Linked DNA regions of Homo sapiens: region 2 is linked to region 1. Evidence: promoter capture Hi-C in human tissues and cell types (Jung and others, 2019). All regions are on one chromosome and are shown on one strand. Each heading gives the region's core, a stretch centred on a gene start or on the middle of the fragment in contact. The rest is flanking DNA. Distances are from core to core; before and after follow the strand shown. Region 1 holds the start of HOXC4 (homeobox C4). Region 2 overlaps LOC105378250 (a long non-coding RNA gene).

Evidence for each region. The method cuts DNA at HindIII sites, captures the fragments that hold promoters and counts their contacts. A contact is called where the count stands out against the background at its distance.
Region 2: a contact is called between a fragment that was not itself captured here and the fragment with the promoter of HOXC4 in region 1, in 1 of the 25 tissues and cell types used here (thymus).

Annotation. Positions count from the first base shown.
Region 1 is chr12:54,051,335-54,056,619 of GRCh38, reverse strand. It overlaps HOXC4 (homeobox C4), which reads right to left and starts at 2,785. Exons shown (of 2, transcript NM_153633.3): 1 at 2,259-2,785; 2 at 590-1,770. The coding sequence starts at 2,697. The coding sequence ends at 1,415. RefSeq lists a cis regulatory region at 2,494-2,994 and enhancers at 3,571-3,730, 3,026-4,007, 4,008-4,989. The HindIII fragment of the contact is 12,403 bases long and covers 1-5,285 here.
Region 2 is chr12:53,810,768-53,816,052 of GRCh38, reverse strand. All of the region lies in intron 1 of LOC105378250 (a long non-coding RNA gene), which reads right to left. Among named protein-coding and RNA genes, the nearest start is that of CISTR, 61 kb to the right of the region's middle. The HindIII fragment of the contact is 3,858 bases long and covers 1,377-5,234 here.

The sequences.
Region 1 (5,285 bases), core at 1,536-4,035:
CCAGTCTTTTTTCCAAGCCTAAACAAACAGAGAAGGCATCCTGACAGGTGACTTTGCTGCTTCAGAGTCACCAGCTCAAAACCTTCCTTCTTTTAAGAACTCAAATGTTGAGGGGATGTCTTCCTTAATCCCTCATCCCAAAAGAGCCCTAAAAGATGAAAGAAAACTATTCTCCTTCCCACTCCCTAAACTTGCCCCCTTGTCTACAAAGTAGGCAGGCCTACTCAGCACAGAGGAGGGAGAAGGGAAGAGAGAGAAAAGACAAAAAGAAGAAACTGTACCTAACTATAGAAAAGTGAGACACTCCCCACCCTCAGCTCCACTGAAGTGCCCCCAGAGGAGTCTGGTCTCTCTGCAGACTCAGGGGGAAGGAAGGGGACTGGAGAAATCAGCCTTAATCTTCCACATCCCCTCTTCTGAAGATCCCATACCCCAACCCCCTTGCTTGTTCTTCTAAGGACATTGGAAGACTAATGGAGAGCTAAGATTTGTGTGTTTGTTTAAAGTAAACTTAGGCAACTATAGAGAAGATGGGATGTTACCAGGCCAGAGAGGGAGGGGAATAAAAAGAAACCATCAGACATTGACGTAAAACTAATTCACATCCACTGGTTTATTATTGATCACGGGGCATTTCACATCGACACTAAAATTCTTTATTGCAAGTTTTACAATAATCAAGTAAATTCAGTCCAAAAACACAATAACCACGATAGGGGTGGGGAGAGATTCTACCTATAGACTGCCTCTCTGAACTGAAAGTTCATTTTGATTTTCTTTTGGCTCCTCAAACTGAACAGCTCTGAGAGGCTCTCCAGATGCATTTAGCTTTGTCTGCTGTCTTCGCCCCCTCTCCTCCCACACCCCCCCCCAACAATAATACAAAAGAACTTCATAGCTTTGTTCTCCTTAAAATGACTTCCCCCTCACTAACCTCCCCTGGTGCATTTTCAATGCAAAAGGCCTAAGGAAAGAGGGGGGGAAGGAGGAGGAGGAGAAGGATGAGAATTGGCTTTAAAATTTCTTTCCTTTTTTCTTTTCCTCATTTCCCCTGAAATTCACCCAAGCCAGACCATCACACCTTGCAATATATAATTTTTGCAGCTTTTTTTCTTAAAAAATAAATAACCCCCCAAAATGGCCTTTTAAAAAAAAACACCCAGCAGGTACCATGCTAAGACAACATCACATGCTTAAAAGGGTCCTTAACAGTGGGAGGGAGAGGAGGGCAGGGGGCTTGTTTGTTTATCTGTTTTGTCTGTTTGGAACTGACAAGGGACAAGGTGAGAGGAAGAGAGAAAAGAACCTATATATATATATATATATATATATATTAAATTCTATAAATAAGAGTCAATTTGTGTGTGAGGGGAGGGTGGGGGCATGGGGTGGGGGCAGGGGTGTGAGTTATGTTTTATAACCTGGTAATGTCCTCTGCCCGTTGCTGCTCCGGCGGCGTGGCGCTCTGGGAGTGGTCTTCAGAAGTACCCGGGGTAGCTGCCGAAAGGGTGCTGGGCGCAGCGCCGGCCGGGGGTGCTGACCTGACTTTGGTGTTGGGGAGTCGGTGGTCCTTCTTCCATTTCATGCGACGGTTTTGGAACCAGATTTTGATCTGCCTCTCAGAGAGGCACAGCGAGTGGGCGATCTCGATCCTTCTCCTTCGGGTCAGGTAGCGGTTGTAATGAAACTCTTTCTCTAATTCCAGGACTTGCTGCCGGGTATAGGCTGTCCTCGAGCGCTTGGGTTCCCCTCCGTTATAATTGGGGTTCACTGGGGGGAGGGGAAAAGCAAATAGTGGGGTTCAGAGGCAGCAGGCTCCCCGCCCCCCACCCTCACCCCATCCTCAGCTCTGAGAAACAGGAGGAGGGAGTGGTGGAAATAAAGTCATCAAGCTTAAATGGGTTATAAAGAAGTTGAAGGAAGCTGAAGACTTTGTAGTGTAATAAGAGGGGAATCCTCATTGTAACGACACTGAATTATTTATGCGCCCTTAGAAAGCGAGCATAGTTTTCACACATACATAACAGATCGTAGCACATGGCTCGGACTGCCCAGAGTAGCTAAGCCATAAAATTTATGGGGGATGTAATTACCCATTCTCGCTCGTAAATCCAGTTCAATTGTGCTAACCCAGAGTCGCTCCTGGAGAGAGAGGGGGAAGGAGAGAAAGGAGGACGGGGGCCAGAGGGGGCCGAGGAGGGTGGGGAGCGCTAGGGAAGAAGGGAGGGAGGGGGGGAGCAAAAAGCAAAGTTGCCTACCCGTGCTAACGTGAATTTTTTTCATCCATGGGTAGACTATGGGTTGCTTGCTGGCGGCGCTGGAGGGATGGTCGGGGGCTGGCTGGCTGCAGGCTGGCGGGGCTGGGGACGGGGAGGCGGAGGCGCCTGAGAGAGGCGCCGGCTCGCAGAGCGACTGTGATTTCTCGGGGTGGTGGTGGCCCGCCTGGGCCGGCCCGTGGCCTCGCGAATTGCCGGGCCCCTGGAGACTGGTGCAGCTATACTGGCGCTCAGGGTAGCTAGGGCGCGGAGGCGGTGGTGGGTACAGCTCCTGGTGGTGATGCTGGAATCCCGATTCCCTGGTCCGGCCGTAATATTCCGGACTGTGTTCAGGGATGTAGCTATTTTGCGAATATTCTTCGCATGGAGGAAATTTCGGATCGATGTAGTTAGAGTCCATCAAATACGAGCTCATGATCATTAATTTCTGGAGTGGAAAATAATTTTTCTCGCTTTGTCGTTTTTCTGCTCCATAAAGCCCTCCTACTAGCTAGCGACCCTGTAAAGTTACTTTCACCATGTGACTCCTCCGGCCAATCACACGGAGCAACCCAGTCCCCGGATAAGGAACCGAATCGCTTTATTCAAAATGTATCCAATTTTTTTGTGTGTGTGGTGGTGGTGGTGCTGGGAGGCGGGGGTGGGTGGTGATGTGGGGTTAGCTAGCAGAGGTTGGAGTGCCCCCAGTGCACATCCCGCCAGACTGACAACCCTCCCCTGCAAAAGGAGATGGGAAGCTCCCGGCTCCCCTCCAAAGCCCGGGCATTGGGGGACTGTCGGGAGGCAGTGATTCAGCCCCCGCCCAGGGTCTCCCCTCAGGCCTCTGCTGGGCCCCGTGGGCCTCGGCTCCTGAGCTTTTCCAGAGGTCTCCATTCATGGCGATCGTGTCTCAGTCTGTGTAGGTCACGGGGCAGCGCCCCTCTTTCGCAGGAAGAGGAAGTTGAATGAGGACTGGAGTGGATGTTGGATGGGGAGGGGCCCAGGCTGAGCCGAGGAGGCTGGAGAGCCTGGAGTGCCCCCCATCCAAGGATACCAGAGTCCAGCCCCTCTTCCCCATACACACTCACCCAACCCTCTGGCCATGCGGCCGGCGAGGCAGGGTCCCAGCTGGACCAGGCAGGTAGAGGCAGCGGGATGCAAATGATTCTGACGTCATTTCTGGAGGTCTGGGGGTTGAGCCCCCGCTGAAGAGAGACAGGAAGTGGTTGGCAAAAGCAGAGTTCAGAAGTCTCGCCTTCCCCTGCTACCCACTGACCCTCCCTGCCCCAGCCCCAGAGCAGAGGATCTCTTCTACTGCTGGCTTCTGTTTCCACTCCCCATTCAGCCCGGCCTGCTATTTTCTGACAATTATCTCCAAGGAGCTGGGGCAAGGAGGAGAGCTTTCTGCCAGGAGTCAGTGCCCTGTGATGGTGCCCAGCCAAGATCCTGAGAGTTCTTTCTCTGTCCCCACAGAGGGCAGACCTAGCTAAGAGGGAGGCCTGTGTGGGTAGAGCCTGCTTGCTTCTGGCTAGGAGCTGTATCCATGTAACACGTGTGTTTACATGTAAACACGAATTCCTAAAGGCCAGCTCCAGGCTGCTTTCCAAAAACGGAAGGCTAAGCTCACCAAGTTGGGGAGGCACGGCCAGCCTTTGGGGTCTCCAGCCCATTCACACCCCCTGCTCTCTCTCTGCCACCCACTCACAGTAATACTCTGATGGAGGGGGGTGACAGGGCCGTAGAGGAGGGAGGGGGCCAGGAAAAGCTGCTTTCCTAACCACCACCCCCCCCCCCCAGCTAGGGGTGGTCCTGTCATGCCACCGATTCCAATTAACTGATCGCCCATAACTCAGAGTTGCGGGGGGTAGCGGAGGGGAGAGCCCAGGGAGGGAGCCGGGTCCCCTTGTTGTACTTGATAACAATTATAGTTTAAAATCATAGCTTGCCAGGGCTCAGCTATATTTTACTTGATAACAATAAAAGTGACACATAAAGTTAACTGTTTATGTTTTATTTATTAGACTAAATCTGCCAGCGGTGGTAGGAGCGCTTGCCTCGTCGCTACAGCTTTTATAGGGCTGTAAAACGTCATAAATCAGTCTCGCGGAATCGCCCGCACTCTTTGTGTCGGCGGCGGCGCAGGGCTGGCGGCCGCTGGCTGCCTGCTCCCTCCTTTCCACGAAAAGTCGTAATGTGATTTTTTTTCCCTCTGATTTTATTATTATGATCGCCGCCGTGATTAGTCAATCTACCTTTAATTCGCCGCCCTACGCTACCTCCTCCCAGCCCAGCCTGGTTGACACTTGAATAAGTACCTTTTAAAACGGCATAACAACTATTTGAGGGTTTAATTAGAACATCTGCAATTAAGGGAATGAGGAGGGGAAAGGGAAAAAAAAAATAAAGCCCTTGTGAGAGGGAGACTGAAGGCAAGAGATTCCAATCCTTTTCTCATCACCTTTGGGATGTTGGAGAGGGTCCCCACTTCCAAATTAGGGCTTCCCCAAAGGGCTGGAATGAGAGGGAAGCTGGACCCACAGCCGTGCCCAAAGGGTGCGGATTCCCGCCTGGGCCCTCGTTGCCTTCCCTCCTCCAATGCTTAGGCCCCCAGCCCCACCCCAGGCTCAGCAGGGCCAGGGCTTAGCTCCCAAGGAGCTGGTGCTTGGTGGTCCCTGAATACTCTCTCTCCAAGAGGACAGTGCCCATCCCCACTGTAACCAGGCCAGGTGAAGGAACAGGAGTTCCCCAGAGGCTGAACACCTCTAATGGAGATTCCCAAATTCTCAGAGTTGGCTGAGAACCCTTGCCCACTCTTGTCCGGAACTCTCTGCATGTGAGGACAGGCTGGTTTGGTTGGAGAGGAAGTTGAGACTGTGAGTGAGGGGGCGGAGGAAGGCTACTGCTTGGTTAATAGTGGTTTGGGTTGTGTGGGGTTGTCTTAATCATTGGTGGTGGGGGTGGGTTCATTATAAATTGCTGGAAGAGGGCAAAGGGAAACCAGTGCTGAATCCTAGTACCTAAGTCTGAACT
Region 2 (5,285 bases), core at 2,056-4,555, 240 kb after region 1:
CACTTTGGGAGGCCAAGGCAGGAGGACTGCTTGAGCCCGGCAGTTTGAGACCAGCCTGGGCAATATAGTGAGACCCTGTCTCTATAAAAAAATTAAAAATTTAGCCGAGTGTGGTGGCATGCACCTGTAGTCCCAGCTACTTGGGAGGCTAAGGTAGGAGAATTGCTTGAGCCTGGGAGGTAGAGGCTTCAGTGAGCCATGATCATACCACTGCACCCCAGCCTGGGTGACAGAGCAAGACCTTGTCTCAAATAAATAAATAAATAAATAAATAGAAGTAGAAGTCCTTTGTTAAGCTTAATTTCAGTACCTCCAGCTTTAACTTATCTCTTTTTCTCTTATTTGGAAGATGAGACTAGCAACTAATAATATTCTCCTTCATTTGGGAACCCAGGAATTCTAAGATAGGTTATCAAGCCCCTCAGCCCCCTCTGAACTCAGCCCTCTCCAGTACCCTTGCTGTACTCTTCTCAAGGCTACCAGGCTGGGCCATGTGAGGAATTTTGAAGACAAGAAACATCCTAAGGCTGGGCTAGGTGGCTCATGCCTATAATCCCAGCACTTCAGAAGGCCGAGCAGAAGGATTGCTTGAGGCCAAGAGTTCGAGACCAGCTTGGGCAACATGACAAAACCCCATCTCTACTAAAAATACAAAAAAATTAGCAAGCCTGGCCAACATGGCGAAACACTCTCTACAAAAAATACAAAAATTAGCTGGGCATGGTGGTGCATGCCTGTAGTCCCAGCTATTCAGGAGGCTGAAGTGGGAGGGTCACTTGAGCCCAGGAAGCAGAGGCTACAGTGAGCAGAGATCGTGCCACTGAACCCCAGCCTGGGCAACAGAGCAAGATCCTGTCTCTAACAAAACAGAACACAAAATATGTACCCATTACTCAATATCTTTGGAGGGTTCACCCTACAAAAACAACTTAACATGGGCAAATACTGCAGGCTGATCTCCCCTGTAATCCATGCCCAAGCAGAGAGGCCAAATACTAGACTCCTGCTTTAGGTTCACTAAACCTATCTGTGACAGGATGGACTGAAAGCTTTGATCTAAAGTGGCTCTAGGAGGCCAGGTGCAGTGGCTCATGCCTGTAATCCCAGCACTTTGGGAGGCCAAAGTGGGTGGATCACCTGAGGTTGAGAGTTAGAGACCAGCCTGGCCAACATGGTGAAACCCCGACTCTATTAAAAATATAAAAACTTAGGCAGCCGTGGTGGTACACACCTGTAATCCCACCTACTCGTGAGGCTGAGGCAGGAGGATCACTTGAACCCTGGAGGTGGAGGTTGCAGTGAGCCAAGATCATGCCACTGCACTCCAGCCTGGGTGACAGAGCAAGACTCCATCTCAAAAATTAATTAATTAATTTAATTTAATAAAAATAAAGTGACTCTAGGAGACTTAAGAAAGGACACCTCTCCTGGAGGGACAGTTACAGGGTCACTAGAAAGAGTGGGACTGACCTCCATCAGCATATCCCCAAACAGTAGTGCTGAAAAGTCCTCTACCTTCAGCTTCCTCCCAAACATCGAACCCCCTAAAATGGGATAAGAAATCGTCACAACCATAATGCAGGATAAATCTCTCTATATGTTCCTACTTCAACCCCAAATTGTTAATTCCTAAACTCTGTGAACACTGGCACTGAAAAAGAATGGCTAAAATCTACTTGGTTCTGAAACGTATTATATGAAGCTTTGGTACAATATTCACCTGTTATATTTAGGCAGACATCAGATTGCTTTTCCTTAACACATGCTTGTTTAGAGCTGTGGAGGAGAAGCAAGCCTAAGGTTACAAATCCCCAGCAAAGATGTCACAGAATGGAAAAAGAAATAATTGACCATTTTGAAACAGCCCATTTCCTACCAGATTCTCACAGTGACTATGCACGGAGAAACCTGGACCTGCCACCATCCACCAGGGGCCAAGGCAGCCAGCAGTCCTTCCCGATAGCAAACACAGGGGCTGGGAGAAAGGAGGTATTATTTCCAGCCACTGCAGGCTTTCAGGACACAGAAGGGTCTATCCTCATAACGTTAGTAGCAGTGGAATCAATTCTATCCTTAAATCTGTTTTCAATTTGACTAATTTATTGAAGAAGGAGGCAATCAGGGCAGACACAGTGGAAATCTTCCTGATAGGAATGTGGGCCTATTAACCTCCAGGATCTCTTAGACTGATTGGTTTTAATACAAGCACAGAATCTGTTCTCTTTTGCAAGCTAGATTATAGGTGAGTCTGTCCTGAGGCAATGGGATTGGCAAAAAGACTCTCCTGCTTCCTCAGAGTTTTGAATCTTCTTGCTTAGGAGAAGCCAGATCCAATATCCAGGAGGTGAGGGCTGCAGTGTTATTTTACAAACAAGCCCTCCCTATATCAACGCCACTTACTGTACTGGAAGCCGGTATTAAGTGAACTGCTAGCGTAGTGCATCAAGGGCTTATTGAATATTGATTCCCATTTACGTGACAGCAAAATGGCCTAAGAAATCTTCTCCGGATGCCTCAGCCCCTTGATAAAGAGGGTGTTAGTTTTGTTTTATGAAGCTGGGATCCAGGCCAGTCACATCTTATAGCTCCACTTACTTTTATTTAATAAAAACAAGGGATGATATGAGTGAGGAGGGGGAGTGTGCTGTATCATGTTGTTTTTCAAGAGGGTTCAACCTGTTAGTAAAGCAAGAGGAACAAGAGTTAGGCCACAGGAAGTATTTTGCATCAGGCCATGGGCCAAGGAAGGAAATAGAAAAATCCCCAAATGGACAACCCCAAAGGCAGATACAAGTCTTTCTTCCAAGAAAAAAAAAAAAAAAACCCTACCTGGGTGACAGAAAGAAGGCATTTTGCTGGCCAGCAAATACCATACCGGCAAACAATGGAAGAGACTGCTTTTGGTGGGAAGAGATTGCTTTTATCAGCAAGAGCAGAATCACAATCTCTCATCAGGGAGGTAGGGATCCAAACATTTCCATATCCCTTCCCCATGTGCTAAATGTCCACTAACCCAGCCCTTCACCTATATGGGAATTCCTCCTATTCTCCCAATTTCCCAGAAAAAGAGATTGTACGAGCTTTCCCACCTCACCCCACTCTCAGTTTCTAGCAAAGAAAACTCCCTAATGTTAAACCCTAATTCTATTCCCCCAGTTCTTCAAAATGTTCCCCTTAGAAAATAAGCTACTGAGGCAGGTACACTGTCTCATGCCTGTAATCCCAACACTTTGGGACTCTGAGGCAGGAGGATTGCTGGAGGCTAGGAATTCAAGACCAGCCGGAGCAACATAGCAAGACCCCATCCCTAAAAACAATAATAATAATAATAAGCCCAGCACAATGGTACATGCTTGCAGTCCGAGCTACTTGGGAGGCTGAGGCAGGAGGATGGCATGAACCCAGGAGTTTGAGGCTGCACCGAGCTATTATCCTGCCATGCACTCCAGGCTGGGTGACAGAGCCAGACTCTGTCAAAGAAGGAAGGAAGGAAAGAAAGAAGGAAAGAAAGAAAGAAAGAAAGAAGGAAAGAAAGAAAGAAAGAAAGAAAGAAAGAAAGAAAGAAAGAAAGAAAGAAGAAAGGAAGGAAGGAAGGAAGGAAGGAAGGAAGGAAGGAAGGAAGGAAGAAAGAAGGAAAGAAGGAAAGAAAGAAAGAAGGAAAGCAAGAAAGAAAGGAAGAAAGGAAGGAAGGAAGAAAGAAAGAGAGAGAAAGAAAGAAGGAAAGAAAGAAGAAAGAAAGGAAGGAAGGAAAGAAAGAAAGAAAGAAAGAAAGAAAAGAGAGAAAGAAGAAAAGAGAGAAAGAGAAAGAGAGAGAGAAAGAAAGAGGAAAGAAGGAAGGAAAGAAAGGGAGAAAGAGAGAGAAAGAAAGCAAGAAAGAAAGCAAGAAAGCAAGCAAGAAAGAAAGAAAGAAAGAAAGAAAGAAAGAAAGAAAGAAAGAAAGAAAGAAAGAAAGAAAAGCTACAGTATTCTCATGGAAAGGAACTGACAGCTCCATCCCAGAACACAATGGGGCAGGGCAGGGTTGAGGAGAAGGATAGGGAAAGGCTTAGAAGGTGAATCTGCTCCTGGATCCCCTTCCCCACCGCACTTAACCTCAACTCTTAAGGTTAGACACATGACAAAACCTCTCAGTGCGAAGGACTGTAACCTCCCAGAAGGCTGAGGCATCTCTCTGGAGAGCTTTAACCACCAGAGCCATTTTCCTCTAGCGTGACTAGATGGCGTGCAGAGGCAGAGGGATGACAAGATTGGAGATAGCAACAGGGAGAGTGAATAGAGGAGCTAGGGAGTGACCACAAATTGGTCAGCCTGCCAAGAGCCACTGACCCCGTTTTAATATCCCAGAGGTTGGAGGCGAGAGTAGAAATCACAGGCTCCAGAAAAAACAATCTTTGAAAGAAAATTGGCTGTCGCAGCCAGAGATATATGAAAGTGCAGTTACAGTCGGGGGAGCGACTGTAAAACTGCACCTGGTTATTGCACTGACTGGCTGACACCATGATGCTTTTGCACTCCAAACAGTTTTTTTGAAATGAAAAATCCCTATGGACTTAGGTAACTAAGATGGTGTGGGATGCAGAGTGTAGAAGAGAAGGGGGCAGGGCCGCTCAAGCTTCAGTGTAGAGGCAGATCTGTATAAGTGGTTTGGCAGTGGCATAAACAGGGAGGAAAAGGGTTGAGGGAACCAGAGACTTAGAACTCAAGTCACACAATAACAAGGGGCAAGAAGCCAGGAGAGCTCTTATTCCAGGGGTTTTACACCAAGTTCCACAAATTAACTCTCCATCTCTGTCCTCTGGCAGTCTTTGTCTGGCTCTCAACTCATGTCTCTGCCTTTCCATCTGACTTTCCACCTCTTCATTCCTTCACTTACCTTTCACTGCTCCTCTCTCCTTTGTCCATCTTTGTATCTTTCACTTAATCTTGCTTCTGACTGGTTTTCACTATCTGTTCCTCTAACTATAACTATCTTTGTTTATCTGTCTCCATGATATCCGTCCCTCTTGTTATCCTTCCATTTTCCTTACAATCACTCTATTATATCCATCTATTTGGGCATCACTCTTTCTCTCCCCAATTCTCTCTACTCTAATGAAAAGTAGTCAAGGAGTAGAGAGAGGGAATTCTAAAGAAAATGATCAACTACCTTTTATTATAAGCACATGCTAAGTGCCAAGCCCTCACTTAAACATTCTCTTATTCAACCTTTACAACTAACCTGAGCAGTGGGTCTTATTCCCATTTTATAGATGGGAAAACAAGATCAAAAAGTCTAAGTGACACAA